2 separate regions of the Homo sapiens genome follow, and region 2 is linked to region 1. The links are contacts of gene promoters, found by promoter capture Hi-C in human tissues and cell types (Jung and others, 2019). All regions are on one chromosome and are shown on one strand. Each heading gives the region's core, a stretch centred on a gene start or on the middle of the fragment in contact. The rest is flanking DNA. Distances are from core to core; before and after follow the strand shown.

The links. The method cuts DNA at HindIII sites, captures the fragments that hold promoters and counts their contacts. A contact is called where the count stands out against the background at its distance.
Region 2: a contact is called between a fragment that was not itself captured here and the fragment with the promoter of ZFP37 in region 1, in 2 of the 25 tissues and cell types used here (IMR-90 fibroblasts and heart right ventricle).

The regions. Positions count from the first base shown.
Region 1 is chr9:113,053,254-113,058,535 of GRCh38, forward strand. ZFP37 (ZFP37 zinc finger protein) reads right to left here and starts at 3,471. Exons shown (of 4, transcript NM_003408.3): 1 at 3,304-3,471. The coding sequence starts at 3,435. RefSeq lists an enhancer at 3,102-3,671. The HindIII fragment of the contact is 44,168 bases long and covers 1-5,282 here.
Region 2 is chr9:112,978,540-112,984,195 of GRCh38, forward strand. No RefSeq gene overlaps it. Among named protein-coding and RNA genes, the nearest start is that of ZNF883, 31 kb to the right of the region's middle. The HindIII fragment of the contact is 5,184 bases long and covers 524-5,656 here.

The sequences.
Region 1 (5,282 bases), core at 2,221-4,720:
TTCCACCTTTACCTAGCCTTTCTTTCTTGTTCAGATTCCTTGTTCTAGCACCATACACAATCAATTAAAAACTATAAAGTTTTAACTTCCTTGATTCTCTTCTTCTCCACTGTACTCACCTGTCAAAGCCTCAACCTTGGTTAAATCCAACTCTCCTCTTAATCTCTGCCTGAAACCTTGCAACTGAACATTGCAAGAGAAAAATCAAACTGCTGAGTGGACTAACTTCAAATTTATAACACACATGCCAAATGGACACCTAATCCTGTCAGTAGTCCTACTACCTAACCCTAGAAAATACACCTTTCCTTTTTCCTAGGTGATTATTTTGAACATTCTCCTTTTTAACTCTGAAAACTCCAACATCTACTCCTTTCCCACTCTTGGCTGATGAATTTGCTTTATGCTTTCAAGAGAAAATAAATCCAAATGGACAAGAATTACCCTGTCTTGTTACCACCAATTCCAGCAACCTGTTTCCAAACTCATATACAATATACCTTCTCTTCTGTTAAAATGGAAAGTCTTCCTTCTCTCACCTAAGGCCAGTTTCTCCATTTGTGCTCTCAATCCCATCCCCAACTGCCTTCCCAAAGACTTCACTCCTGCAAGTACCTCTTTCTGTTTTGTAACATCTGTGTCTCCCTTTTATTTGGGTCATTCCCATTGACACACAGAGTTGTCTTAATATCATTCATCTAAAGAAAACCCCCTCTTGATTTCATATCCTATACAACGTCCATTTCTCTGCTTCCTTTACCAGCAGAACTCCTCATAACTGTTGCCTATACTTGCTGTTTCCACTTCATTACCTCTCATTCTTTCAACTCACTCTAACAGGATATTATCCCCTTAACTCCAATAAAAGAGTTCTAATCAATCAAAATAACCATTGAGCTACATACTGACAAAATCAAATGATCTCTAGTCCTGCTTTTAGGACTCAAAAGCATATATGACAATTGATTACTTCTATTGTCTTGAAAGGCTTTCTTCTCTATGCTACTTTGACACCCACTTGCACAGTTTTCCTCTTACTTCAATGGGCACCCCTTATTCTCTCTGTTGTTTTTTGTCTTCTACCAGACTTTTAAATGTCAGAGTGACCCAGCCCTCTGTCCCTGGCTCTCTTCTCTTCCCTATCTGTCTTCTCTTCCTAGGTGACCCGAGCCAATCTTAAGGCTTTAAATACCATCTTTATTGTGATGCATTTCAAAAATGGTTCCCTAGCTCACCCCTTTCCTAAGTTCCAGATTCATATATATAGTGGCTACCCAATATCTCTAGGTAGATGTGCAATGAGCATTTTGACACGGCCAAAATAGAGCCACTGACATCACCCCAGATCCCATTTCCATCCACCAAATCTAGTCTTTTCCACCATAACCCTTTCCATTCAGAAAATAGAATCACCATCCATCCGGTTCTTCAGGTTAAAAGTCTAGATGTAAATCTCGATTCTTCTCTTTCCTCATACTCCATATATCAATACATTAGTAAGTTCTATTGCTTATCTCCAGATGTATTCTGAATTTGATTTCATTTTGCTGCTACAACTCTATTCTAAATCACCATAATCTCTTGTCTTTGACTATTGCAAAAAGTTCCTAACTGACCTCCCTATATCTACCTACTCTTGCCCCTCTGCAGTCCGTCTTCCATGAGGTAGCCATGGTGATCTTTTCAAGGTGTCAGTCAGAACAGATCATTCCCCTGCTTAAACTCAATGGCTTCTCACTGCATCTAGAATAAAATCCAAATCCTTACACTAGCCAATAAAATCCTACATTATCTGATACCTTCCTACCACTATGATTCACAGCTTTCTACTTTCCCTCTGACTGTGCTCCAACAGCACTAATCTTCCTTCTCTTTTTTAAGCACACCAAGTTTACTCCTACCCCAGGTCCTTTGCAGTTGATGTTTATTTCTTCCTGAAACACTCTTTCTTCAGATCTCTGCATGGCTGCCTCCTTGTGATGATTTATGCCTCAACCCAACTGTCATTTGCTAAGGAAAGCTTTCCATGACTAACCTGGCTAAAGTCATGCACTCCCTACCCTCAATCACTCTGTACCACACCATCCTCTTTTACTTACTTCAGCACTTATTAGTGTCTGGAATAATTTTATTTGTTTATATTTTATGATATCTTTCATATTTCTATAATGTAAGTCATTGAGGGAGGGATTCTGGTTTTGTTTCCTGGTGTGTCTCCAGCATTTAAAACATTCCCTGGTTTTGAGGACAAAGCAGGGACTGCAAAACAACAACACCAAACAAATAAAATAAAAAATACCCCCTGGCATAAAATAAATGCTCATCTTACAGACTGTTCCTACTGTTCCTGCAAGTTTTCAATCACTGACACCCAAATACTCCCCAATCACTAACCTTCACAAACTTCTCCCAATTATGGATCTCTGCAAGTTCCCAACTATCACTCTCCACAGAACAATCATTAACCTCCACAGATCTCCAATCACTGACCACCAAAGAACCCTCAATCATTAAATGCAGCAATCCCCTCAAACTCCTGACCCCCTTAGACTTCTAGTCACAGAATCATAGAGGATCTTCAATCATTAATTCCTACTAATCACCTCATTACTCAAAGCACAGTTATTACTGCTAGACACCACCTAATTATTGACCTGCATACATCCCCAATTACCTTTTCTCCCCAGATGACATACAAATCATCTACCATCCCCAGAGACACCTCAACATTGACTCCCCAAACTCCAACAGTCATATTCCCCCCTCACTGGCCCCCCGATTCCTCCATTACCCACTGACCCTCAAAGATACTGCTAATCAAACTTCCACAGACATCACCGTCACTGACTCCCAAGCCCCAATCTCTGATGCTCCCAGATGCTCCCAATCACTGAATTTCCCAAATCCTAACACTGACCCTCTTTGATAACCCAGGCTCTAACCACCACAGGCACCCATAATCGCTGGCTCCCATAGACATCCCAAACCGCCAACCCCCACGGTCCTTCCCTATCTCTGACACATCACAAAGCCTCCATTTCTGATCTCCTTCCAAACTCCGACACTCGGTGACTGCCACAGACGCCTCCCCATCATTGTCTCTGCAGATCCCTCCTAATACTGATATCCTAAAGCCAAATCATTAACCCCACAGATAACTCAGAACACCGACCTCCCAAAAGACCATCTAGCATCGATTCCACCAATTCCCAAATCACCTATCGTCACAGACTACTCCAATCACTGCCCCGCAAGTACACCATCTCTGACCGCCAAAACACCCTGTCTCATCACAGCTCTCACCGCGGCGCTGGCCTCGGGCTCGGACACAGCCATCTCCAGTGGTCGCCCGGCCTCTTTGGTCGTTTCCGCACTTCTCCTCCGGTCCACGGTCTCTGGCTTTGTCAGAATCTGGACGCCGCTGGAGACCGACATGGCGGCTACCCGGAGGGCGGCCTTAGCGGGTCCGGCAGCCGCGATGGCGGCGCCCTTCGGTAATAGCGCACGGGCGCGGCCATCTTGGCAAACACTCAGCCGTACAGCGGAAGTGCGGGGACTTCTGGGACAATTAGATCGGGAGGTGGAAGCTGGCGAGGGCGTTACTTGCAGGATGCAGGAGTGATGCGATCAGAGCCAGCCGGAACCGAGTTCCGTTACGCACTACAGGACTGACCTGGGCCTGACAACCCACTGCCGGAGTTCGGATCGCATCACTGCCGGAAGATATTTTACAGAATTTGGAATTGCTTTTCCGAATACATGTCAGTGCGGCCAGCGGCTAGAAGTCCGGGAATCACAACGCTTAGTGCGGACTTTAGAAAGGCAGGATGCGAGAAATTGGAAGCATAACGGAGAAAAGCCTGATCGAACAAATAACATTATTTTATAGGGAGAGGACGTTAATCTTTGAGATATACGATAAATCTTTTCATATATAGTATAAGAACAATAAGAAAAACTGAAACAGAAACTTAAGTAAACACACCACTCCTCCGTGAGAGCCCGGGTTTGGTGAAGATATTTCACCAGAATAATCAAGCACTTGGAGAAATAATTCCTTAATGCGCCATTTCATGCATTAATTGCATTCATTGAATATGTGCAGGTTAGGTGCTGCGCTATGCAAGGTACTGGAAAAAGAGTGGAGAGGGGTAGGGATGATGTAAGTCCAGAGTCCAAAGGCCAGAAAACCAGGGTCTCCAATGTCAAAAGGCAGAAGATGAATGTCCCAGCTCAAGAAAAAAGAAAAGGTGGGAGGGAAGTGGGGATACTTAACGGGTTTTTAAAAAAAAAGAAAAGAAAGAAGGAATAAGACCTAGTATTTGATAGCACTACAGGTGTATATATCCAATAATAATTTAGTTGTACATTTCGAAATAACAAAGTATAAATGGATTGTAACACAGAAGATAAATGCTTGAGGGGATAGATACCCCATTTTCCATGATGTGATTATTGCACTGTGCATGCCTGTATCAAACTACTTCATGTACCCCATAAATATACTCACCTACTATGTACCCACAAAAGTTAAAGATTAAAAAAAAATAGAAAAGAGGATTCACCCTTCCTTTTCCTTTTTGTCCTTTCAGGCCCTCAGTGGATTAGGTGGTGGCCACCCACATTGGTGGGGGCTTTTTTATTCAGTTTGCTAATTCAAATGCTAATCTTTTCCCAGAAACACACTAACAAACCCAGAAACAATGTTTCACCAGTTTTCTGGGCATCCTTTAGCCCAGTCAAGTTGACCGATAAAATTAACCATCACCCTAACCATGATATACACAGACTTCCAGGTTACAGAATCTGTGAGATAATAGGTTTGTGATACTTTAATCCACTAAAGCTGGTGATAATTTGTTATCCAGCAATACTAAACTAAGGACTCAGTGAAGACTGAAAAATAATTGATGGCTTGAAATTACTCTTCACCTACTTAAGACACGGCCCCCTACACTGTGTTCCTGACAGAGTATTCTTTGAGCGTCACCTTTGTACGGATAGGCAATTGCTTTGTTTCTGCCTCAGATATGGTCCTGACTTTAATTGTTCCTGATATTAGAGTCGTAAAAAGGTACAATATTTTTTTCAATACCTCTCCTTTCCTTTCTTCCTCACAAATCAGAAAGAGGGGCAGTTCAGTTTCTCAAGGATTTTCTTGAAACCAACATATATATACATAATATATACATATATATACATATACACATATATACACATGTATACATATATACACATATATACATATATACATATATACACATATATACATATATACACAT
Region 2 (5,656 bases), core at 1,866-4,365, 75 kb before region 1:
TAATTTTCTTCCATTTTAATGGAAATTCCCTGGCATCTGAATGCTGACTCCCTTCAGCCCCCTGTCAGACTAGCAGAGCTCTTGCTGGCCCCAGGTTCTATGCATGCAAAAATGAGAGGCAAAAACCTGCCAGGCAAATCAGCAGTTGCAGTAAAAGGCAGGGCTCTGGGAAGCTGGCGTTGAAGGTTGGTGGCTGCTGGGTGGAGCCAGAACACTTGTAAGTGGGGCATAGTTGGCTTCTGGTGCGACTTGAAGCCTGGTCTAATTATTTCACCAAACTAAGATGGTGATGTCAGCATCCCACTCACTCTTTTCTGTCCCTCTCTCTGCACCCCACTTCCAGCAGAAGACAAGAAATAACTAAGATCAGAGCAGAACTGAAGGAGATAGAGACATGAAAATCCCTTCAAAAAATCAATGAATCCAGGAGCTGGTTTTTTGAAAACATTAACAAAATAGACTGCTAGCCAGACTAATAAGGAGAGAAGAATCAAATAGACACAATAAAAAATGATAAAAAGGATATCACCACTGATCCCACAGAAATACAAACTAACATCAGAGAATACTACAAACACCTCTACACAAATAAACTAGAAAATCTAGAAGAAATGGATAAATTCCTGGACACATGCACCCTCCCAAGGCTAAACCAGGAAGAAATCGAATCCCTGAATAGACCAATAAAAGTTCTGAAATTGAGGCAGTAACTAATGGCCTACCAACTAAAAAAAGCCCAGGACCAGATGGATTCACAGCCAAATTCTACCAGAGGTACAAAGATGAGCTGGTACCATTCCTTCTAAAACTATTCCAAACAATAGAAAAAGAGGGACTCCTCCATAACTCATTTTATAAGACCAGCATCATCCTGATACCAAAACCTGGCAGAGACACAACAAAAAAAGAAAATTTCAGGCCAATATCCCTAATAAACATCGATGCAAAAATCCTCAATGAAATACTGGCAAGCCAAATATAGCAGCAGATTAAAAACCTTATCCACCACGATCAAGTCAGCTTCATCCCTGGGATGCAAGGCTGTTTCAACATATGCAAATCAATAAACATAATCCGTCACATAAACAGAACCAATGACAAAAACCACATGATTATCTCAATAGATGCAGAAAAGGCCTTCAATAAAATTCAACACCCCTTCATCCTAAAAACACTCAATAAACTAGCTATTGATGGAACGTATCTCAAAATAATAAGAGCTATTTATGACAAACCCACAGCCAATATCATACTGAATGGGCAAAAGCTGGAAGCATTCCCTTTGAAAACTGGCACAAGGATGCCCTCTCTTACCACTCCTATTCAACGTAGTATTGGAAGTCCTGGCCAGGGCCATCAGGCAAGAGAAAGAAATAAAGGATATTCAAATAGGAAGAGAGGAAGTCAAATTATCTCTGTTTGCAGATGGCATAATTGTATATTTAGAAAACCCCATGGTCTCAGCCCAAAAACTCCTAAAGCTGATAAGCAAAGTCTCAGGATACAAAATCAATGTGCAAAAATCACAACCATTCCTATACACCAATAATAGAGAGCCAAATCATGAGTAAACTCCCATTCACAAGTGCTACAAAGAGAATAAAATACCTAGGAATACAACTTACAAGGGATGTGAAGGACCACTTCAAGGAGAACTACAAACCACTGCTCAAGGAAATAAGAGAGAATACAAACAAATGGAAAAACATTCCATGCTAATGGATAGGAAGAATCAATATTGTGATAATGGCCATACTGCCCAAAGTAATTTATAGATTCAATGCTATTCCCATCAAGCTACCATTGACTTTCTTCACAGAACTAGGAAAAACTACTTTAAATTTCATATGGAATCAAAAAAGAGCCCATATAGCCAAGACAATCCTAAGCAAAAACAACAAAGCTGGAGGCATCACACTACCTGACTTCAAACTATACTACAAGCCTACAGTAACCAAAACAGCATGGTTCTGGTACCAAAACAGATATATAGACCAATGGAACAGAACAGAGGCGTCAGAAATAACACCACACATCTACAACCATCTGATCTTCAACAAACCTTAACAAAAACAAGCTATGGGGAAAGAATACCCTATTTAATAAATGGTGTTGGGAAAACTGGCTAGCCATATGCAGAAAACTGAAACTGGACCCCTTCCTTACACCTTATACAAAAATTAACTCAAGATGGATTAAAGATTTAAACATAAGACCTAAAACCATAAATACCCTAGAAGAAAACCTAGGCAATACCATTCAGGACACAGGCATGGGCAAAAACTTCATGACTAAAACACAAGAAGCAATTGCAACAAAAGCCAAAAATGACAAATAGGATCCAATTAAAGAGCTTCTGCACAGCAAAAGAAACTATCATCAGAGTGAAGAGGCAACCTACAGAGTGGGAGAAAACTTTTGCAATCTATCCATCTGACAAAGGGCTAATGTCCAGAATCTACAAGGAATTTAAACAAATCTATAAGAAAAAAAAGCAACCCCATCAAAAAGTGGGCAAAGGATATGAACAGACACTGTTCAAAAGAAGATATTTATGTGGCCAACAAACATATGAAAAAAAGCTCATCATCACTGGTCATTAGAGAAATGCAAATCAAAACCACGAGATACCATCTCACACCAGTTAGGATGGCGATCATAAAAAGTCAGGAAACAACAGATGCTGGAGGGGATGTGGAGAAATAGGATCGCTTTTACACTGTTGGTGGGAGTGTAAATTAGTTCAACCATTGTGGAAGACAGTGTGGCGATTCCTCAAGGATCTAGAACTAGAAATACCATTTGACCCAGCAATCCCATTACCGGATATACACCCAAAGGATTATAAATCATTCTACTATAAAGACATATTCACACATACGTTTATTGCAGTAGTATTCACAATAGCAAAGACTTGGAACCAACCCAAATGCCCATCAATGACAGACTGGATAAAGAAAATGTGGCACATATACACCACGGAACACTGTGCAGCCATAAAAAAGAAAGTTCATGTCCTTTGCAGGGACATGGATGGAGCTGGAAACCATCATTCTCAGCAAACTAACACAGGAACAGAAGACCAAACACCGTATGTTCTCACTCATAAGTGGGAGTTGAACAATGAGAACATATGGGCACAGGGAGGGGAACATCACACAACAGGGCCTGTCGGGGGGTGGGGGGACAAGGGGAGGGGATAGCATTAGGAGAAATACCTAATGTAGATGACAGGTTGATGGGTGCAGCAAACCACCATGGCACATGTATACCTATGTAACCTGCATGTTCTGCACATGTATGCCAGAACTTAAAGTATAATTTTAAAAAATTAAAAATAAAGGTGAAAATCCATATGATTATTTCAATAGATATAGACAAAGCATTTGAGGAAATTTAACATGAAATTCTCAGCAAAGTAGAACTAGAAAAACTTCCTCAATCTCATAAATGGCATCTACCCACATATACATGTATGTATGTTTAACCTGTCGATCTATTAAAATGAGGGACCCAAAGACCAGGCAGTAGCCATAGCTTCATGGTCAGTGGAACTCCTGCCCTAAGAAACAGAACCTTTAAACTAGCACAGCCTAAGTTTATGGGAAAAGAAAGATTAGTGGGACTCTGGAAATAACGGTGAGAAAAGCCAATTCTACTTTCACCCTTGGTTACTGGACCTGTGTATAATAGCTACTGGGGATAGAGAACAATTTGTTAGGCAATAGCTTCAATATATGTACCACAACTTGGACAAGAGCACCCTAACCCTGAATGGTGTCATTCCTAAACTGGTGCCTTAGATGAGTCTTCGTTTTTTTGAGACAGGGTCTCATTCTGTTGCCCAGGCTGGAGGGCAGTGGTGCAATCACAGCTCACTGCAGCATCGACCTTCTGGGCTCATGTGATCCTCTCACCGCAGCCTCCCGAGTAACTGGTACTACAGGCACATGCTAGCAAGCCAGCTAATTTGGGTATCTTTTGTGGAGATGGGGTTTCATCGTGTTCTCAGGCTGGTCTTGAATTCCTGAGCTCAAGCGATCCTCCTACCTCAGCCTCCCAAAGTGCAGGAATTACAGGTATGAGGCACCAGCCTTTAGCTTAGTCTTAAAGAAGCCATTTCAAAATTAGTATGTCAACTTCTAGGTGATATGGTATATGGTAAGACCTGTAGATCTCATGATCTACTCATGTGTATGATCTCATGATCATACACACACTGTCATACATCCTTCACTGTAAAATGGGTACATTGGTCTGAAGCAATGTTTTGCAGGCTCCCACATTCATAAATTAGCCACTCAGTAAGCTCCTCAAATAGTGATACAGTCAGTCACTGAAGAAGGTGAAGGTAAACCCACCTCCAGTGTAGTTGCCAGTTCCAGCAAGAACAAATCAGTGCTTCTTCCTAAATAAAAAGCGTCCATTTTAATCAACTTGCCACCATATGGCTGGCTGATCTCCTAAAGGATGTTACCACACAGAGGCTTACAGTCAGTTTCTGCAGCTGAAGCTTCAGTCATTCAACAATAACAATAGCTGAATGAGCCTTGGTGATAAAGAGACCATGTTGTTGGGCCCATGTAACACCTACATCCCTGCAATCATGGTTTCTTAATTCATGAGCCCATTGCACAGAACCATGGTAGCAAAAGACAGACTGGCTCCTTGTATACTTGTTTAATGCCCATTTTTCATAAGATTCTCTCTACAACACAAACTTTTTCAGCCTGTGCGCAATCCCATAGATCCATTTACATGCCTCTTACCTAGACTTCCTTATCTACAGTATCCCAATTATTAATCCTTTCATGTCTCTGCCCAACCAGCCAAGCCATTTGCCACTGTCTTAGTCCATTTTGTGCTGCTATAACAATACCTGAGACTGGGTAATTTATAAGGAACAGAAATTTATTTTACACAGTTCTAGAGGCTGAGAAGTCCAAGGTGATGGCAGGTTTTGGTGTCTGGAAAGGGCCCAGTCTCTGCTTCTAAGATGGCACCTTGAACACTGCATCCTCTTGAGGAGTGGGAGGAACACTGTTCCTCACATGGCAGAAAAGCAGAAAAGAGCAAATCCATTCCATTTTATAGTGGCATTCCATTCATGAAGGGTGAAGTCCTCAGTCCTCATGACCTAAACACCTCCCATTAGGCCTCACCTCCCAACACTTTTGCATTGGGGATTAAGTTTCAACATGAGTTGAAACTTTTTTTTTTTTTTTTTTGAGACAGTCTTTGTCTATCACTCAGGCTGGAGTGCAGTGTGCAATCTTGGCTCACTGCAACCTCCTCCTCTCGGGTTCATGCAATTCTTGTGCCTCAGCCTCCCAAGTAGCTGGGATCACAGGTGTGTGTCACCATGCCTGGCTGATTTTTGTATTTTTAGTAGACATGGGGTTTCACCATGTTGCCCAGGCTGGTCTCGAACTCCTGACCTCAAGTGATCCACCCGTCTTGGCCTCCCAAAGTGCTGGGATTACAGGCATGAGCCACCATGCCCGGCCCGTTCAAACATTCAAACCATAGCAGCCCTGCTTAGGAATCCTTGTAAAGCCTCATATCAGACCACCTCTTCCTGCATGTGAAGTGGAAGATCAAGTATAGTGCTATAGACCTCTAGTGCTCCTGTTAAAGATGCTTTTCTTTTAAGCTA